Regions from separate parts of the Homo sapiens genome. Here all the other regions are linked to region 4. Evidence: promoter capture Hi-C in 16 types of primary human blood cells and fetal thymus (Javierre and others, 2016). All regions are on one chromosome and are shown on one strand. The core of a region is centred on a gene start or on the middle of the fragment in contact, and the rest is flanking DNA. Distances in the headings are between cores, read along the strand shown. Region 1 overlaps IKZF4 (IKAROS family zinc finger 4). Region 2 has its middle 15 kb from the start of RPS26. Region 3 overlaps LOC105369781 (a long non-coding RNA gene). Region 4 holds the start of SMARCC2 (SWI/SNF related BAF chromatin remodeling complex subunit C2). Region 5 overlaps RAB5B (RAB5B, member RAS oncogene family). Region 6 overlaps TIMELESS (timeless circadian regulator). Region 7 overlaps PAN2 (poly(A) specific ribonuclease subunit PAN2).

What was found. Contacts are between HindIII fragments. The CHiCAGO score rates a contact against its expected background, and 5 or more counts as called.
Region 1: a fragment that was not itself captured here is called in contact with the fragment with the promoter of SMARCC2 in region 4 in 2 of 17 cell types (total CD8 T cells and naive CD8 T cells); the score reaches 5.2 in total CD8 T cells.
Region 2: a contact is called between a fragment that was not itself captured here and the fragment with the promoter of SMARCC2 in region 4, in 8 of 17 cell types (total CD8 T cells, naive CD4 T cells, total CD4 T cells and 5 more). The highest score is 7.1, in total CD8 T cells.
Region 3: a fragment that was not itself captured here is called in contact with the fragment with the promoter of SMARCC2 in region 4 in 1 of 17 cell types (naive CD8 T cells); the score reaches 6.0 in naive CD8 T cells.
Region 5: a contact is called between a fragment that was not itself captured here and the fragment with the promoter of SMARCC2 in region 4, in 2 of 17 cell types (total CD8 T cells and naive CD4 T cells). The highest score is 6.7, in total CD8 T cells.
Region 6: a contact is called between a fragment that was not itself captured here and the fragment with the promoter of SMARCC2 in region 4, in 2 of 17 cell types (erythroblasts and activated CD4 T cells). The highest score is 5.5, in erythroblasts.
Region 7: a contact is called between a fragment that was not itself captured here and the fragment with the promoter of SMARCC2 in region 4, in 2 of 17 cell types (fetal thymus and endothelial precursors). The highest score is 5.1, in fetal thymus.

What each region holds. Positions count from the first base shown.
Region 1 is chr12:56,032,923-56,035,622 of GRCh38, forward strand. It overlaps IKZF4 (IKAROS family zinc finger 4), which reads left to right. Exons shown (of 8, transcript NM_022465.4): 7 at 268-399; 8 at 1,649-2,700. The coding sequence ends at 2,409. Among named protein-coding and RNA genes, the nearest start is that of RPS26, 7.6 kb to the right of the region's middle. The HindIII fragment of the contact is 3,063 bases long and covers 1-2,700 here.
Region 2 is chr12:56,055,159-56,057,858 of GRCh38, forward strand. No RefSeq gene overlaps it. Among named protein-coding and RNA genes, the nearest start is that of RPS26, 15 kb to the left of the region's middle. The HindIII fragment of the contact is 258 bases long and covers 1,279-1,536 here.
Region 3 is chr12:56,009,609-56,012,308 of GRCh38, forward strand. It overlaps LOC105369781 (a long non-coding RNA gene), which reads right to left. Exons shown (of 3, transcript NR_135023.1): 2 at 1,931-2,070; 3 at 484-663. It also overlaps a transcript of IKZF4 not described here. Among named protein-coding and RNA genes, the nearest start is that of IKZF4, 10 kb to the right of the region's middle. The HindIII fragment of the contact is 1,691 bases long and covers 605-2,295 here.
Region 4 is chr12:56,188,147-56,190,846 of GRCh38, forward strand. SMARCC2 (SWI/SNF related BAF chromatin remodeling complex subunit C2) reads right to left here and starts at 1,337. Exons shown (of 29, transcript NM_001330288.2): 1 at 1,205-1,337. The coding sequence starts at 1,315. TRS-CGA4-1 (tRNA-Ser (anticodon CGA) 4-1) reads left to right here and starts at 2,218; the gene lies at 2,218-2,299. LOC107984468 (a long non-coding RNA gene) reads left to right here and starts at 2,546. Exons shown (of 2, transcript XR_007063330.1): 1 at 2,546-2,700. RefSeq lists silencers at 1,074-1,293, 1,364-1,643 and an enhancer at 1,884-1,983. The HindIII fragment of the contact is 5,408 bases long and covers 1-2,700 here.
Region 5 is chr12:55,988,724-55,991,423 of GRCh38, forward strand. RAB5B (RAB5B, member RAS oncogene family) reads left to right here. Exons shown (of 6, transcript NM_002868.4): 3 at 1,224-1,375; 4 at 1,959-2,081; 5 at 2,637-2,700. Among named protein-coding and RNA genes, the nearest start is that of SUOX, 7.2 kb to the right of the region's middle. The HindIII fragment of the contact is 2,234 bases long and covers 188-2,421 here.
Region 6 is chr12:56,425,582-56,428,281 of GRCh38, forward strand. TIMELESS (timeless circadian regulator) reads right to left here. Exons shown (of 29, transcript NM_003920.5): 13 at 2,655-2,700. Among named protein-coding and RNA genes, the nearest start is that of TIMELESS, 22 kb to the right of the region's middle. The HindIII fragment of the contact is 2,921 bases long and covers 1-2,700 here.
Region 7 is chr12:56,328,356-56,331,055 of GRCh38, forward strand. PAN2 (poly(A) specific ribonuclease subunit PAN2) reads right to left here. Exons shown (of 26, transcript NM_014871.6): 3 at 117-286; 4 at 1-3. Among named protein-coding and RNA genes, the nearest start is that of PAN2, 4.3 kb to the right of the region's middle. The HindIII fragment of the contact is 3,073 bases long and covers 1-2,700 here.

The DNA of each region.
Region 1 (2,700 bases), core at 50-2,549, 160 kb before region 4:
GGGAAGTTTGGGTCTATATCCTTGGCCTAATGGGAGAGAGAGAACACAAGAAGTATAAAACCAAGGGCCAGATGTGTATGATTGTCCCCAAATGATCTGAAATTTTATTGGAGTGAGCTTTAGGTAGGGTAAACAGAGCCCAGTTTCCCAGGCAACTGGTATGTCCTTCCTTGGCTACTGACCTGCTGGTTTTCTCCAGGCAAAGGCTGTGGGGCCAATGCTACCCCTACTCAACTGCTACTACTGTCTCCACCTTCTTCCCACTAGGTGACGAAATACGTGACCTGGAGATGGTGCCAGACTCCATGCTGCACTCATCCTCTGAGCGGCCAACTTTCATCGATCGTCTGGCCAATAGCCTCACCAAACGCAAGCGTTCCACACCCCAGAAGTTTGTAGGTAAGAATCCAGTTGGAAAGACGTATCAGCTTTAAGCCACAGCTCAAATAAATCTGAGCTGTGTGGTCTGGAGATTCGGTTTGGGGAAAGAAAGCAGTCTGGTGGGCTGGGTGCAGTGGCTCACGTCTGTAATCCCAGCACTTTGGGAGGCCAAGGTGGGCAGATCAAGAGGTCAGAAGATCAAGACCATCCCGGTTAACACAGTGAAACCCCCTCTCTACTAAAAATACAAAAAATTAGCCGGGCGTGGTGGCGGGCACCTGTAGTCCCAGCTACTCGGGAGGCTGAAGCAGGAGAATGGTGTGAACCTGGGAGGCGGAGCTTGCAGTGAGCGGAGATCGCGCCACTGCACTCCATCCATCCTGGGCAACAGAGCAAGACTCCGTCTCAAAAGAAAAAAGAAAAAAGGAAAGAAAGAAAGCAGGCTGGTGGCCTCTGATACTGAAAATCTATCCTCAGGACAGGAGGAAAGTAAAGAGGGAGGATGTACTCAAAGAGAGTGGAGAAGGGTTGGCACTGAAGACTCTCGTGGTGGTTGTAAGGGACAGGGTCGAGGCATCGGGCTGTCTCAGTTTTTTGTTTGTTTGTTTGTTTTTGAGACGGAGTCTTGCTCTGTCGCCCAGGCTAGAATGCAGTGGCACGATCTCGGCTCACTGCAACCTCTGTCTCCCAGGTTCACGCCATTCTCCTGCCTCAGCCTCCCGAGTAGCTGGGACTACAGACGCCTGCCACCATGCCCGGCTAATTTTTTTTGTATTTTTAGTAGAGACGGGGTTTCACCGTGTTAGCCAGGATGGTCTTAATCTCCTGACCTCATGATCTGCCCGCCTCAGCCTCCCAAAGTGCTGGGATTACAGGCGTGAGCCACCGCGCCCGGCCCGGGCTATCTCAGTTTTTAAGAATAACAAGAACTTCAGTCTGTGTGGGCCCTTAGAGAGTCAGAGAGAGGAAATAAGTATGTGGTTCCCCCTATCCCCAGCACTAGTCATGAGCTCTCTAAGGACCTGGAGCTTTATGGAGAGTAATAAAATGAAGTATTAAAAATCAATGGGCTGGGATTGAGTCCTTCTCTAAGATTATAGCCTAGAGTCAGGGAGCAGTCCCACAAAGGACCTGACCCTGCGAAAGTAAATGCCACGTAGTAAATAATGTTACACCCAGCCCCACAGGTAAAAAAACAAAGAAGTAATCCTGAGGAGAGTGTAGGAATTCTCCAAACCCAGCCCTGCTGAGTTCCTGTTCTCCACAGGCGAAAAGCAGATGCGCTTCAGCCTCTCAGACCTCCCCTATGATGTGAACTCGGGTGGCTATGAAAAGGATGTGGAGTTGGTGGCACACCACAGCCTAGAGCCTGGCTTTGGAAGTTCCCTGGCCTTTGTGGGTGCAGAGCATCTGCGTCCCCTCCGCCTTCCACCCACCAATTGCATCTCAGAACTCACGCCTGTCATCAGCTCTGTCTACACCCAGATGCAGCCCCTCCCTGGTCGACTGGAGCTTCCAGGATCCCGAGAAGCAGGTGAGGGACCTGAGGACCTGGCTGATGGAGGTCCCCTCCTCTACCGGCCCCGAGGCCCCCTGACTGACCCTGGGGCATCCCCCAGCAATGGCTGCCAGGACTCCACAGACACAGAAAGCAACCACGAAGATCGGGTTGCGGGGGTGGTATCCCTCCCTCAGGGTCCCCCACCCCAGCCACCTCCCACCATTGTGGTGGGCCGGCACAGTCCTGCCTACGCCAAAGAGGACCCCAAGCCACAGGAGGGGTTATTGCGGGGCACCCCAGGCCCCTCCAAGGAAGTGCTTCGGGTGGTGGGCGAGAGTGGTGAGCCTGTGAAGGCCTTCAAGTGTGAGCACTGCCGTATCCTCTTCCTGGACCACGTCATGTTCACTATCCACATGGGCTGCCATGGCTTCAGAGACCCTTTTGAGTGCAACATCTGTGGTTATCACAGCCAGGACCGGTACGAATTCTCTTCCCACATTGTCCGGGGGGAGCATAAGGTGGGCTAGCAACCTCTCCCTCTCTCCTCAGTCCACCACTCCACTGCCCTGACTACAGGCATTGATCCCTGTCCCCACCATTTCCCAAGGAGTTTTGCTTTGTAGCCCTCACTACTGGCCACCTGACCTCACACCTGACCCTGACCCCTCCTCACCTATTCTCTTCCTCTATCCTGACCGATGTAAGCATTGTGATGAAACAGATCTTTTGCTTATGTTTTTCCTTTTTATCTTCTCTCATCCCAGCATACTGAGTTATTTATTAATTAGTTGATTTATTTTTGCCTTTTTAAATTTTAA
Region 2 (2,700 bases), core at 158-2,657, 130 kb before region 4:
CAGAGTCTCACTCTATCACCCAGGCTGGAATGCAGTGGTGCAATCTTGGCTCACAGCAACCTCCACCTCCCAGGTTCAGCGATTCCCCTGCCTTAGTCTCCAAGTAGCTGGGATTATAGGCATGTGCCACCACACCCAGCTGATTTTTTTTTTTTTTTTTTTTTTTTTTTTTTTTAGCAGAGATGGGTGTCTCACCATGTTGGCCAGGCTGGTCTTGAACTCCTGACCTCAAGTGATCCATCCGCCTCTGCCTCCCAAAGTGCTGGGATTACAGGCATGAGCCACCACACCCAGCGAAGGCTGATTATTTTAAAAAGCAAACCACTGCCAGGTGCAGTGGCTCACACCTGTAATGCCAGTGCTGCAGGAGGATCCCTTAAGCCCAGGAGTCCCAGACCAGTCTGATCAACATGGTGAAACCTCGTCTCTACAAAAAAAATTTTTTAAATTAGCCAGGTGTGGTGGTGTATGACTGTAGTCTCAGCTATTGGGGAGGCTGAGGTGGGAGGATCCCTTGAGCCTGGGAGGTCGAGGCTGCAGTGAGCCAAGATAGTGCCACTGCACTCCAGTCTGGGCAACAGAGCAAGATCCTGACTCTTAAAAAAGAAAAAAAAAAAGGGCTGGGAGTGGGGCCTCACGCCTGTAATCCCAGAACTTTGGGAGGCCAAGGCAGTAGATCATGAGGTCAGGAGTTTGAGACCAGCCTGGCCAACATAGTGAAACCCCATCTCTACTAAAAATACAAAATTAGTCAGGTGTGGTGGCACATGCCTGTAGTCCCAGCTACTCAGGAGGCTGAGGCAGGAAAATCGCTTGAACCTGGGAGGCGGAGGTTGTGGTGAGCCGAGATCACACCACCGCCCTCCAGCCTGGGCAACAGAGCTAGACTCCATCTCAAAAAAAAAACAAAACAACAACAAAAAAAAAAACAAAAAAAAAAAAACGGCCAGGTGCAGTGGCTTATGCCTGTAATCCAAACACTTTGGGAGGCCAAGACTAGTGCGGTGGATTATGAGGTCAAGAGATCGAGACCATCCTGGACAACATGGTGAAACCCCGTCTCTACTAAAAATACAAAAATTAGCCAGGTGTGGTGGCACTTGTCTGTAATCCCAGCTACTTAGGATGCTGAGACAAGAGAATTGCTTGAACCCAGGAGGCGGAGATTGCAGTGAGCCAAGATCAAGCCACTGTACTCCAGCCTGGGCGACAGAGCAAGACTCTGTCTCAAAAAAAAAAAAAAAATACAATCTCATCACTCCCCCACTGAAATTCTTAAGCTTCTCTCTGTAATTAAAATGTACACTCCTTACTGTGGTATATATGCCCCTGCATGGTCTGGCCCCTCCCTTCCTCTCTAACCACCTCCTCTGCCATGGCCTCCCCATGATTCTTTCTGTTCCACCACACTGGCCTCCTTTCTGTTCCTCAGACCCTCCAAGCTCATTCTTCCTTCAGACCTTATCCCCTCACTAGTTGCTCTGCCAGCAATGCTCTTCTTTCAGGTCAACACAAAACTGGCTCCTTCTTATTTAAAGCTTAGTGCAAATGACACTGCCTCAGAGACCCCCCTTCTTGACCACTCTGTCTAAATTAACTCCTCCAGGTGAGCAGCAGTGGTCACTTTCCCAGTATCTTGTTTCGTTTTCTTCATGCCACTTACTACTGAAGTTATTTCCTGAGTTGTTCATTGGCTGTCTGCACTCTCTAGAATGTAAGCCCCTTGAAGGCAGAAACCTGTCTCTTGTTCTCCTGTGTCCTCAGTGTTTGGAGCAACACATAACACTGAATGAATGAATGCATGCATGCATGCATGTATGGGGGCGCATGAGAAGGATGCAGGTGGCAGGCAGTTGTATTTGTTTCCTCTCGGTGCTGTAACAAATTACCACAAACTCAGTTTTATTATTATTATTATTTATTTTAGTTTTATTTTTTTGAGACAGAGTTTTGCTCTTTTTGCCCAGGCTGGAGTGCAATGGCGTGATCTCAGCTCACTGCAACCTCCGCCTCCCGGGTTCAAGTGATTCTCCTGCCTCAGCCTCCCAAGTAGCTGGGATTACAGGTGCACACCACCACACCCGGCTAATTTTTTGTATTTTTTAAGTACAGACGGGTTTCACCATGTTGTCCAGGATGGCCTCGATCTCTTGACCTCGTGATCCACCCGCCTCGGCCTCCCAAAGTGCTGGGATTACAGGCGTAAGCCACCGTGCCCGGCCAGTTTTATTATCTTATAGTTCTAGAGGTCAGAATCTGAAACGGGCCTTACAGGACTACAAGGTGTTGGTGAAGATGGGTTCCTTCTGGACGCCCTAGGGGAGAATCTATTTCCTTCCCTTTTCAGCTTCTAGAGGCTGCCCGAATTCCTTGGCTGAGGTTGCAGTGAGCCAAGATCGCGCCATTGCACTCCAGCCTGGGCAACAAGTGCAAAATTCTGTCTCAAAAAAAAAAAAAAAATTGGTCTGGGTGCACCAATTTTACTAGTCCCTGGATGTTTCAAAGATAAATCAGATGCAGGCCAGGTGGCTCATGCCTGTAATCCCAACACTTTGGGAGGCCGAGGCAGAGGATTACTTGAGGACAGGAGTTTGAGATCAGCCTGGGCAACATAGCAAGACCCTCTTTCTTTCTCTCTTTCTTTTTTTTTTTTTTTTTTTTTTTTTGAGACGGAGTCTGGCTCTGTCACCCAGGCTGGAG
Region 3 (2,700 bases), core at 200-2,699, 180 kb before region 4:
CAAGAGAAGTTTCACTGGAGCTTCTGGGGTGGGCTTCAGAATGGTGAGAGCTGCCCTCATTTTGGCAGCTTCAGAATTATACCTTGCCCTAGTCAATAGAAGTTGATGTCTCAAACACAAAATATAATGTCTTTGTTGCCCACTGAGTGCAGTTAGTTAGTTGAATTGTAGCTTCTGGGCAATCCCCTTCCTCTGAGTAGGTTAAGGGTAAGGCATATTTCAGGACTTGGCTCAGAAATAAGTCCTGACTTTTTTCCAGTGAAAATGCAACTGAAAGTCTCTTTATGTCCTCTTAGTTTGAAATCTGCAGCTTGAACTTCCCAGCATGGGAGAAACTTATCCCACCTTTCACCGTACCCCCTGCCCCCCCACACACAGTAGTATCCACAAAGGAATTATTTTTTTTCCCCAACTGGCCATCTCTCTCTCTGTCTCTCTCTCTCTCTCGCCACACACACACACACCAAAGAAAAAGAAAGATAGGTATTTCTAGCCTCGTTTTACTCTGTAGGAACAAATAAGAGTGTGGGACCCTGTGAGTGTGGACAATGCCACAGGCAGAGGGACTCCCTTTCTTTATTGGTCTGTTGACTCTGCTGAAGAAAGCTTTGAATTCCAGGCTTTGATTTGCTTCCTCTTCTTAGAAGAGTTATGGACTCTGTTCTGGAAACAGAGAGATAGGTTCAAAGTTTATCAGACAAAGGCATCTAAGAAAGGGTAGTGCTGATATGAATGACCTGGTCCAGCTGCGGGGAGGATCCACATTGTAGGCTCTGATGCAATACCTATGCTGGGGTAGTCCTCAAGCTAAGAGGCCGTTTCTACTTTAGAGACTTAATGACCATCTAGTTTGGTGTTTTCCTCAGGTCCATTATCTCTGAAAAGAGACATAGGAGGAAGAGGATTATTTATCCTCCCATCCATAAGCCTGTGTTTCCAGTTCAAGGATTTAGGTCAGCAAGACGCAGACCCAAAAACCATTCATTTAATAACCCAAGAAAGAAGGCAAGCAGGGTGGCCCAAATCTTCCAACTGGGGCAAGATTTAATATAGTGTTCCAGTGGAAAGAATCTTCTAATGGTAACTTGGACTCTACATGTCCTAATTCTGTTGTTAATGAGATTGATGACTCTGGGCTTAGTTTCTTCTGTTAAAAACTAGGAAATTGTAGATAATCTCTCAACTCCATTTCAGCTCCAGGATTTCTCAGTTCCTGGAGTACCCCTGCCCTAGACCCTCCACATGAAGAAGAGAGTCTTACCAAATTGGATTATCAGAGCAAGACTATTAGCAGAGAAGCCTGAAAACATCTTTCTGGCCCAAACAACAGTGAACTTTTTTGATCAGCATGTATTAGGGACTTTTGGGCACAATTGCAATCAAAGGCAATTGTTCCTGTCTCTTCTACATTTTTTTTGCTACTGTACCCTAGTCAGAATAGTTCACTGAGACTTCCCTGTAATTTCAAACTTCACTTGAGAGTGCTAACCCTGTTTTGGGCATCTTTGGCTTTAAAACTGATTATTATAAAACTCAAATTGAATTTCCCTGCTCTACTTTCTCCACCCCTGCCAAACATACCACTGAACAGCAGTGATTTTGTGAGGCCTTTCTATAAACAGAGAGCTATACTTGGGGGTACACCCAAAAACCCCAAAAAGTATCATCTCCTATGTATCATATCTAGTGATTTAAAGTGTTTAGTTTGGCCCTTTTCCTTAGTTCCTTATGTCCTGAAATGAGACATGGGAGGGATAGGATCGTTTCTTCTCCCACTCATAAACCTTAGCCTTCTCTCTCTTCTGCAGTCTACATGGGGAGGACAGAGAAGCGCAAAGAACAAGAGAAAAGATGCATCCATCTGAGATCTAAAAGGAGACAATGAGGTGATATTTTCCCCCTGCCCAGGTGTTGTGTTTTCAGCTCTTACCCCTTTTTATTTTAGAGACTGGCCATTCCTAGGATGACCTGGGAATTTATCCCCTCTGCACTGCTCCCCAAGCACTTGGATAATGAAGCTGAGCTGTCTTCAACTGTATTATATGTAGACAGAAGGTCACCATCTACAGCCTGGTGAAAAATGAGTCAGACCTTTCCACTGTAAAGACAAACACATGAGCTGAGCTAAGGTTGGTGGGTTTCCTTCAGAGAGCACTAGGTTGACCCTAAAGATAATTTCAGAGCTGCAAATTGCTTGATGTCTAGGTCTTTTTCCTGGAAAGGGGCTTGCAGACAGTGGCTAATTCCATACCTTTCCCTGGCCCCTTTGCGTCTTCTCCCTCCTCAATTATGCAAAGCTTTGATAGAGAGCAGAGCCAGCTATGTGATTTCAACATATTTTTGCTCAGATTTCACTCAGTTCAGGAAGGCATAGACAGTAGAGGATGATGCTGTGGGTTTGCTCTACTTGTAGCACCTGAATGGCTCATACCCAAGGCACATGGGAAGTTCTGTCTTGTTAATAACTACTGCTCTCCACCGCAGAACCCAGGTACTAAGGGAAAGTGGAGAAAATTTTTCTACTTCTGCCTGTTATAGTTTGGGAATAATAACAAAAACATGGTATGGATCCTTGCCATTCTCTCTACCTTCACCATCTTTCCCAACAATATTCTTCTCATGACCTTTTACCCCCTAGGCCACATTAAGCATGTGTTAAATGACTTTTTTTTTTTTTTTTTTTGAGACGGAGTTTTGTTC
Region 4 (2,700 bases), core at 87-2,586:
TGGAAGCTGAACCAGGTCACAACTGTCAATTCCCCCAAGGCCGGAGGCTAAGCCCCTAGCCTGATCTCCCTGCAAAAGGTCAAAGGTAGAAGCCTGGGAATAAGAGCCTCTCACAGGCGTAGAGACATGCCATAGAAATAGCAGCTATTTGTCAGGATTCTCACACCCAGAGAGACCCCAAGGGCAGGGCCAGGCTCACAACCAGCATCAGTAGGAAGTTCTCCTAAGCCACTAAGCACACTTCTGACGAGCTGCAAAGCCGGCAGGAAGAACTGGGGAGCTGAAAGAAAGCCATAAAGAGAATCCCTCTCTGAGGGTAGTGAGAAAAAGAGAGGCAGACCATTTCCAGAGAAAACCAGGCCTAGAGACAAAGACGACACCAGGAAGAGGTTTGGTAGAAAAGACAGGTAAGGATTCTTGAACCTTTTGTTCACCACCTTATGATCTCCAGTTATGGGGTTTGGGTGTGAGGGGCTAGAGATAGGAAGCTCACCCTAACCTCTCGACCCCAAACCCAGGGTACTGCAAAGCTAGGTTGCAAGGTGACTTCATTGTAAAATCGAGGAAAGGTTTCGGAAGGGGCCGCTACCCAGGAACTCCTATACCCCGGCTCCCTGAGAGATTCTGTTGCCCCTTAGATGAAGGTGGGGGATGAGCGGCGGAGACAGGTGATCCCTGGGTGGAGACCTTTTTCAGGCTGATGAGCAGCCAACGGCTTGCTCTGTGACTGTTTACCCTCCTGCTTTCCATTCTCTCTCTCTGAACATACACAAAGCACCGGAGAGGCCTCAGCCCCGCTGGTACCTGGCTCCGTGGGGAGCTCTGGCGGGCACGCTCCGGGTTGCGGGGGAGCCCATTGGGCACCCGGTCCACACCCGGCCGGCCGCCTCTCCCAGAAAAGCCAGGAGGGCGATGGCTGAGGGGAAGGTGGGCTAATGGCACCGGGGCCCGCCGGGCAGTAGAGAAAAACAAGGGGCAGAGGGCGCAGCAGTGGGGGCGGGGGCTGGGCTCAGAGGCTGGGGGTGCGGGGAGAGGGAGGCTGGGGGAGGGGCGCGGGAGCGCAGGAGGGCGCGCGGGGGGCTGCTTGGGAGGCCGCGGGGGAGGGGCTGGGGCGCCTGGAGGGTAGGCAGGATCCCGGGGCTGCAGGGCCGCGGTCCCTTTGTCCCGCCCCCGGTCCCCGCGCGGCCCGGCCCGGCCCGCGTACCTTCTTGTAGTTCTTGCCGAGCCACAGCCGCACGTTGTCGAACTGGGTCACGGTGTCCGCGGCCTCGTAGTACTTCACGTTGGGGCCGCCGTCCTTCTTCCGCACCGCCATCTTCTCCGGCTCGGGCCCCGCCGCCGCCCGCCCCACTCAGCTCAGCTCCCGCCTCCTCCGCCTCCTCCTCCGCCCGCCTCCCGCCGCCTCCCGCCGCCGCGGCCGCCGCCTCCCGCCGCCTGGGCCGGCCCCGGTCCGCGCTGCGCCCCCTGCCGGCAGGCCGGGCGCGGCGGCGGAGCTCCAGGCGCGGGCCGACCCTGGCGGCCTCCCCGGCAGCGGAGGCGGGAGCCTCCGGGGAGAAGGACGCTTCCTGGAGGGGGCGCCATTCTCCTGAGATCGCTCTTACCAGACGCGAAGCCCTTTCCCTCTTTTTGCCTCAGCTCGGGAGTGTCACCTCGCTATCCCACTCCAGGCGGCCGCCAGTCGCTGGAGCAGCCCCAACCCGTAGACCCGAGTGGTCCTCACCTTGCGCATTCCTAACCCGACGAAGCCCCTCGTCCCCCAAAACCCCAAACCCCTTTCCCCAAGAAGTTCCTTCCTTCCATCCATTCACAGCAGCTCCCCATTTAAACTTTTCAGAGTCTCCCTCACTCCTCGCGCCTTGTCCACCCAGCACTCCCCTCACTTGTTAACCCAAATGTCCCCTAGTCGCCACCCTGGCGGCCCAGTGCCTTCCCTCAACTGCTTCCTCCGCAGGCCTCGCTGTCGCCTCCTAAGTAGGTGTGAGCTCCTACTCGAGACCCCGACTCTTCGCTAGGCAGGAGACCCTCCCTCCCTGGGTCACCCAGTCCATCCGACTCTTTTTCTTTGGGTGGCGTAGATAGGAGGTAAGGAACCGAGGGGTGGGGAGTCCTCAGGTGTGTGTGTGTCGGGGCCGGTACCCTGCTTCCGGTTCCCGCACGCATTCCCGGATTGCAGTGCGGACCCCTTCTGTAAGCGCGCGATAAAGCGCGGTTTTGGAAGTCACGGTGGCCGAGTGGTTAAGGCGTTGGACTCGAAATCCAATGGGGTTTCCCCGCACAGGTTCGAATCCTGTTCGTGACGGGTTTTTTTTTTTTTTCTTTCTTCTTCTTATTATTAAAAGGGAGTCTCGCTCTGTTGCTCAGGCTGGAGTGCAGTGGCGCGATCTCGGCTCACCGCAACCTCCGCTTCCCGGGTTCAAGCAATTCTCCTGCCTTAGCTTCCCGAGTAGCTGGGACCACAGGCATGCGTCACCATACCTGGCTAATTTTTGTATTTTTAGTAGAGACAGGTTCACCATATTGGCCAGGCTGGTCTCAAACTCCTGACCTCAGGTTATCTGCCCGCCTCGGCCTCCCAAAATGCTGGGATTACAGGCGTCGACTTTTTTAACCCCTTTCACAGCACATAAAGGTAACCCCAGTTCTCACACGTTTCTTTCGTGCACTTTCTCTCTCCAAAAGGGAAGCCGCCAAAAGGTCTTA
Region 5 (2,700 bases), core at 55-2,554, 200 kb before region 4:
AACTCCTGACTTCAAGTGATCCACCCGCCTCGGCCTCCCAAAGTGCTGGGATTACAAGCATGAGCCACCGTGCCTGGCCTCTTTCCCCTTTTTATTAGTCATCTTGGAAATGTATTCCTGGACCTGCAGCAGATTATATGAAAAAGTAACAGCCAAATAATATTGATAATGATGGGACTTGCCATCAAGCTTTAAAATCTTCTAATTAATTCTTTTTTTTTTTTTTTTTTTTTTTGGATACTGAGTCTCACCCTGTTGCCCAGGCTGGAGTGCAGTGGTGCAGTGGTTGCCCATTGCAACTTCCGCTTCCCCAGTTCAAGCACTTCTGCTGCCTCAGCCTCCCAAGTAGCTGGAATTACAGGCGTCCATCACCATGCCTGGTTAACTTTTGTGTTTTTAGTAGAGGCGGGGTTTCACTATGTTGGCCAGGCTGGTCTCGAACTCCTGACCTCAAGCCATCCACCTGCCTTGGCCTCCCAAAGTGCTGGGATTACAGGCATGAGCCACTGCGCCCAGCCAATCCTCTAATTAATTCTTTTGTTTGTTTGCGTTTGTTTGTTTGTTTTTTGAGACGGAGTTCCGCTCTTGTTGCCCAGGCTGAAGTGCAGTGGCGCCATCTTGGCTCACTGCAACCTCCACCTCCCAAGTTCAAGGGATTCTCCAGCCTCAGCCTCCCGAGTAGCTGTGATTACAGGTGTCCACCACCACGCCTGGCTAATTTTTGTATTTTTAGTAGAGACGGGTTTTGCCGTGTTGGCCAGACTGGTCTCGAACTCCTGACCTCAGGTGATCCACCTGCCTCAGCCCCCACCTCCCAAAGTGCTGGGATTACAGGCGTGAGCTACCGTGCCCAGCCCAATCTTCTAATTAATTCTTGATGTGACTTTTATCTGAAGCTATTTTCTCTGTCATTTGTTATTCTCCTATTTTGGTTAGAAGAAGGATGACTCGTATAAGTGCCAGTTCTTCTGTCCCTCTTAGTTTATGATGTACCCCCATTCCTTAGCTAGTGACATTTCTGGCAGGAAGGACTTAGCCAAGGGCAGTCTTAATCCTGGTTTCAAGACTTACATGTAAGGAGAACTCAAAACCTTTTCCTGTAGCTGACTATCCTGGGTGGTGACTGGTCTTAGTGTAGGGCAGTTACATTTTGAAGGGGGGGAGGGATGTTCCCATTCATCCTCCCACTTACAGCATCTTCCCCTCCATTCTCTCATCCATAGCGGCCTTCCTCACCCAGTCCGTTTGTCTAGATGACACAACAGTGAAGTTTGAGATCTGGGACACAGCTGGGCAGGAGCGATATCACAGCTTAGCCCCCATGTACTACAGGGGTGCCCAAGCTGCAATCGTGGTTTACGACATTACTAATCAGGTAAGTGAGCTAAGAAGACTGTCCTTGTTGGCTGGACATGGTGGCTTACGCCTATAATCCCAACACTTTAGGATGCCAAGGCGGGAGGATCATGAGGTCAAGAGATTGAGACCATCCTGGCCAACATGGTGAAACCCCGTCTCTACTAAAATTACAAAAATTAGTTGGGCGTGGTGGTGCGCGCCTGTAGTCCCAGCTACTCGGGAGGCTGAGGCAGGAGAATCGCTTGAACCCAGGAGGCGGAGGTTGCAGTGAGCCGAGATCGAGCCACTGCACTCTAGCCTCGGCGACAGAGCAAAACTCCGCCTCAAAAAAAAAAGAAAAAAGACTGTCCTTGCTTATATTTAGAGGAGTTAGTTTGGGGCAGGGGGTAAGGGGGCAGAAAACGGGTTCTTGAAATAGCAAATAAGAGTACAAATTATGCTTCCAAGTGCTAAGAAGACAGATAATGAATTATCAGAGACCTGTGGTTTCACTGAGGGAAGACCACCTAGAAGAGGTGAATTTTGAGACTCATTTTAAAAGGTGATGGATATGGATTGGCAGTCATTCCAGCCTACTCATTCTCTTCATGTTTTCCTAGGAAACCTTTGCCCGAGCAAAGACATGGGTGAAGGAACTACAGCGACAGGCCAGTCCTAGCATCGTTATTGCCCTGGCAGGGAACAAAGCTGACCTGGCCAACAAACGTATGGTGGAGTATGAAGTAAGGTGGCCCGTGGAGTTCCTCTCTAACACTTCCTCTGTTCCTGGGACCTCTTTTTTTCCAAACCAGCCCTCTCTGAAAACGTCAACAGAGGACATTCATTGTCTCATTCCCCAGTTCTACACCAAGTTAAATACAGCAACACTGTGACCCTAATGACAGCCAGGAGATTTTCAAAGGAGTCAGGAGAAAACTCCAGAGCAGAGGGTTAGGGAGGTACCAGCTGTGGGGGTACCAGTGTGAAAACAGGAAGGAGGGAGCAATTAAATTTGTGGTAAGGGACTATTCAAGTGTCACAACCCAAAAGCCCCCAACTAACTTACCCTCTCCCCTATAATTAAGCTTTCTGACATTTGTGTGTTGGACTGAGTGGACATGGGGTCATCTTGAGGGAGTTGTCATTAAATTATGCATCTAGGCTAGCTGGCTCAAAGGGGTATTAATTAAGGGGAGGGAACCTAGGATTTTGCCTAGCTGTTGTGCTGCATGGGAGTGGAAAGGCAATACTCGTTCCCACCCTACATTCTGAGCACTAATACATCCCACTCCTTGCAGGAGGCCCAGGCATATGCAGATGACAACAGCTTATTGTTCATGGAGACTTCAGCCAAGACAGCTA
Region 6 (2,700 bases), core at 157-2,656, 240 kb after region 4:
AAAAGTAGGACAGCCAGGCGCAGTGGCTCACACCTGTAGTCCCAACACTTTGGGAAGCCTAGGCAGGTGGATCGCTTGAGGTCAGGAGTTCAAGACCAGCCTGGGCAACACAGCGAGACCCTGTGTCTACAAAAAATACAAAAATTAGCCAGGCATGGTGGTGTGTACCTGTAGTCCCAGCTACTTGGGAGGCCGAGGCAGAAGAATCGCTTGGGCACGGGAAGGAGAGGTTGCAGTGAGCTGAGATTCAGCCACTGCACTCCAGCTTAGGTAACAGAGCGAGACCCTGCTTAAAAAAATAAATAAATAAATAAATAATTAAAAAAAAGAAAAGCAGGAGAGTGAGTCAATACCCAAATCCTGCTTCTCCCAAGTCAGGGCTGTGAACCAGTCTTTGGTGTGGGTACTGAAAAGTCAAACAGGATGAACTGAGAGGCCCCTGAAGGTCATGCTCCATTAAAGAACTTACAATCAAACACACCAAAACTTAGGAGCATGGAGTCCAGCAGATCTGGATTTGAGTATTGAATTAGTATTACTAACAAGACTTTGGACAAGTTGCTTAACCACTTTGGGCACATGCGCTACTGTGAGGATTACATGAAAACGTCAGCACAGTGTCTGACACACAGTAAATGCTCAATAAATGATAGTACCTAGTATTACAGATAATACCACAGAGCTCTGAGTGCAAAAATACCCTTTAGCAAAGTCTCGTTGGTACTACTGCATCTTTCAAGTCCAGTTATGACAGAATTTTAAGCTGTAGCAACTAGAGTTATAGGAAGGTTCTGGTACAAAATCTTTTTTTTTTTTTTTTTTAAGACAGAATTTCACTCTTGTTGCCCAGGCTGGAGTGCAATGGCGTGATCTCGGCTCACTGCAACCTCTGCCACCTGGGTTCAAGCGATTCTCCTGCCTCAGCCTCCCAAGTACCTGGGATTACAGGTGTGTGCCACCACGCCAGGCTAATTTTTGTTTGTTTGTTTGTTTTTTGAGACGGAGTCTTGCTCTGTTGCCCAGGCTGGAGTGCAATGGCATGATCTTGGCTCACTGCAACCTCCGCCTCCCGGGTTCAAGTGATTCTCCCACTTCAGCCTCCCAAGAAGCTGGGATTACAGGTGCGCATGACCATGCCTGGCTAATTTTTGTATTTTTAGTAGAGACAGGGTTTCACCATGTTGGCCAGGCTGGTCGTGAACTCCTGACCTCAAGTGATCTGCCCGCCTCAGCCTCCCAAAGTGCTGGGATTACAGGCATGAGCCACCGCGCCTGGCCCAAAATCTGTTTATACAAAGCAAAGTCTCTGTGTTTCCAGGATACAAATTCCTTGGAGTTTGCATTTTGTCCCAGGGTTTTTTTTATTTTAATGTGAACCAATAATTTTATTTTTCAGAGATAGGGTCTTGGTCTCACCCAGACTGGAGTGCAATGTCTCAATCACAGCTCACTGCATCCTCAAACTCCTAAGTTCCAGTGATCCTCGTGCTTCAGCCTCCTGAGCAGCTGGGACTACAGGTATGTGCCACCATGCTGGTGAATTGTTTTTGTTTTTTGTTGAGACAGAGTCTTGCTCTGTGGCCCAGACTGGAGTGCAGTGGCATGATCTTGGCCTACTGCAACCTCTGCCTCATGGGTTCAAGCAATTCTCGTGCCTCAGCTTCCCAAATAGCTGGGACTACAGGTGCGTGCCATCACACCCAGCTAATTTTTGTATTTTTAGTAGAGAAGGAGTTTTGTCATGTTGCCCAGGCTGGTCTCAAACTCCTGGCCTCAAATGATCCACCCACTGTGGCCTCCCAAAGTGCTGGGATTACAGGCATGAGCCACTGTGCCCAGCCTGTCCTAGGCTTTTCACTGATTCCACTTTGGGTTCATGGACAACTGTCACAATCCCAACTTTATGGATCTGGAGACCGACACGACCAGCTTGAGCTTATTCCAATAATAACCAATACAGGACTAGATTCCAGACTTTCTAAAGTTCAATTTAAGGCTCTCTTTGTGTTGCTGTTGAGACAGAGTCTCACTGTGTCACCCAGTCTGGAGTGCAGTGACATGATCTTGGCTCACTGCAATCTCCACCTCCTGGATTCAAGCGATTCTGTCTCAGCCTTCTGAGTAGCTGGGATTACAGGTGTGCATCAACACGCCTGGCTAATTTTTGTATTTTTAGTAGAGACGGGGTTTCACCATGTTGGCCAGGCTGGTCTTGAACCCCTGACCTCAAGTAATCTGCCCACCTTGGCCTCCTCAAGCGCGGGGATTACAGGTGTGCGCCACCATGCCTGGCCGCAATTTAAGGCTCTTTCCACCTCACCACAATGCTTTCAAGGTATAACCAGAAAATGCTATAGCATAATTATTAGACTCTAAAATTATGAATCCCCAGGGTTTTTGTACTTGGCATGTGGTAGGTGTTCAATAAATGTTTCCTGACTGAACTAAAATATTTATGGCAGATCAGAGATTATTCTAATGGGAGAAGGAAACTGTAGTAGACTCACACTGGCCAACACCCACAAACCTCTTGCTGTCGTAGTTCAGAGCACGTTTAACAGATGAACTTAAGCTGTACAAACTGTGAGAAGAAAGAGCCCCCCTTCCTTGACTCTCCCTTACAGCTCTTTCTACATTGTGGGGCTGCCCAGTACCTGCACCACCAGGTTCCCACGGCTCCGACAGAATCGCTCCAACATT
Region 7 (2,700 bases), core at 160-2,659, 140 kb after region 4:
AGCCTGGTGGGGAGAGGAAAGGCTAAGGGGCCCAGGCCTTACAAGCTGCCAATCCCTTAGCCTTCCCACCCTATGAGGCATCCTCGTTCCTAGTCCAGAGCTGAGAAGCCACTTACAGGTAATCAAATATAATGAGGCCCCCACGGGCCATATACTTGAGGTTGTTCTTGGTGAGAAAAAGGATACCATTCTCCAGGCTCTGGATCTGCCGAATATCATCACTGCCATTGACTTGAAAGGATGAGTAGCGCTCCAAGGCTGGGCCAAAAAATGAAGTGGCATGGCCCTATAGAGGACAAAGACAACAGAGACACTTAGAGTGGAGGGGCAAGGGCCACCCTACGGCCAGGTCAGGGACTGAACATGGCTCAGCTTGGATCCTTTCTTGCTTGGCCTTTGTGACTAGGAGCAACTGGGGCAAAAGGCTAGGAACCAGTCAATCTTAGTGATAAAGACACTGATAATACTGTCTTATGTTTGTTTAATGTGTTACACAGCATTTTGGTAAACTCTACCTCATTTTGTCCTCACAATGACCCTGCTGAATAGGTAATGGCTCACTTGGTTAGAACAGTATATAGAAGGTCAGGGACATGGTCCAATTCTCTACTGGCCAGCTGGCTTTCTTATGTTTCACATCTGGGAGGATGTGCATAAGGTTATATGCAAATACTATATCATTTTCTATAACGGATTTAGGCATCCTTGAATTTTGGTATCTGGTATCTTTAGATCTTGGAACCAATCCCACATGGATACCAAGAAGATGATGGTAACTACTAAACCTCCTTAAACATCCCATCATAACCTCAAACTCATGACATCCTAAATTAAATTCACCATTTTTATTTCTATTTTTCTTACTGTATTCTCTATGGTACCAAGATCTACCTAGTTGACCAAGCCATATATCTGACAGTCAAGTCCTATGTATTTTTTTCCTAACCACTAGATAACCAAGGATTTTTTAAAATTTTTATTTATGTATTTATTTTTTGAGATGGAGTTTCACTCTTGTTGCCCAGGCTGGAGTGCAATGGCACGATCTCAGCTCACTGCAACCTCTGCCTCCCAGGTTCAAGCAATTCTCCTGCCTCCCAAGTAGCCAGGATTACAGGCATGCACCACCACACCTAGCTAATTTTTTGTATTTTTAGTAGAAAGGGGGTTTCACCATGTTGGCCAGGCTGGTTTCGAACTCCTGACCTCAGGTGATCCACCTGCCTCGGCCTCCCAAAATTCTAGGATTACAGGCATCAGTCACCGCACCTGGCCTATTTTGCTTCCTAAATATTTCCCAAATCTGAGGCTGGGTGCTGTGGCTCACACTGTAATCCCAGCACTTTGGGAGGCCAAGGCAGGTGGATCACTTGAGGCCAGGAGTTTGACACCAGCCTGGCCAACATGGTGAAACGTCATCTCTACTAAAAATACAAAAATTAGCTGAGCATGGTGGCACACACCTGTAGTCCCAGCTACTCAGGAGGCTGAGGCAGGAGGATTACTTTAACCTGGGAGGCAGAGGTTGCAGTGAGCTGAGATGGCACCACTTCACTCCAACCTGGGCAACAGAGTGAGATTCCACCTAAAAAAAAAAAAAAAAAAAAGCCCTTCAGTGGCCTGAAGGTTCAAGTCCAAGGTCCAAGCTCTTTTAACACAGCATATGAAGTTCTCTAGAATGTTCCTTCCCCAGATATCTACATGGCTCCTTCCCTCCCTTCTAGAGGGCCTAGAATAGTAAAGGAGAGGCACAAGGATAAGTTAGAGGCATGGAGCTCTGCCTCTTTGTTCCCCTTTTTGGTGCTGCATCCAAGTCTCTATTCAAATGTTACTTTATCAGAGAGAACTCCTGACCAACTATTTAAAGTAGCAACATTGTTTCTAAAAGAGCCATTAGGAAAAAAGATTAAAATTAAAACAAAACACTACAAAACCAAACAAAATAGCAACATTTCCCACCCTTCATTACCTCAACCCCCTTACTCAACTGTATTTTTCTTTTTTTTTTTTTTTTTTTTTTTTGAGACGGAGTCTCGCTCTGTCGCCCAGGCTGGAGTGCAGTGGCGGGATCTCGGCTCACTGCAAGCTCCGCCTCCCGGGTTCACGCCATTCTCCTGCCTCAGCCTCCCAAGTAGCTGGGACTACAGGCGCCCGCCACTACGCCCGGCTAATTTTTTGTATTTTTAGTAGAGACGGGGTTTCACCGTTTTAGCCGGGATGGTCTCGATCTCCTGACCTCGTGATCCGCCCGCCTCGGCCTCCCAAAGTGCTGGGATTACAGGCGTGAGCCACCGCGCCCGGCCTGTATTTTTCTTTTAATAGAGATGGGGTCTTGCTATGTTGCCCAGACTGGTATTGAACTCTTAGGCTCAAGCAACCCTCCCACCTTGGCTTATCAAAGTGCCGGGATTACAGGTGCCACTGTGCCTGGCCTCATTGTATTTTTCTTTTTCTTTTTTTTGAGACGGAGTCTTGCCCTGTCACCCAGGCAGGAGTGCAGTGGTGTGATCTCAGCTCACTGCAACCTCTGCCTCCCAGGTTCAAGCAATTCTCCTGCTTCAGCCTCCCAAGTAGCTGGGATTATAGGAACCTGCCACCACACCCAGCTAATTTTTATATTTTCAGTAGAGACGGGGGTTTCACCATGTTGGCCAGGTTGGTCTTGAATTCCTGACCTCAGGTGATCCGCCTGCTTCGGCC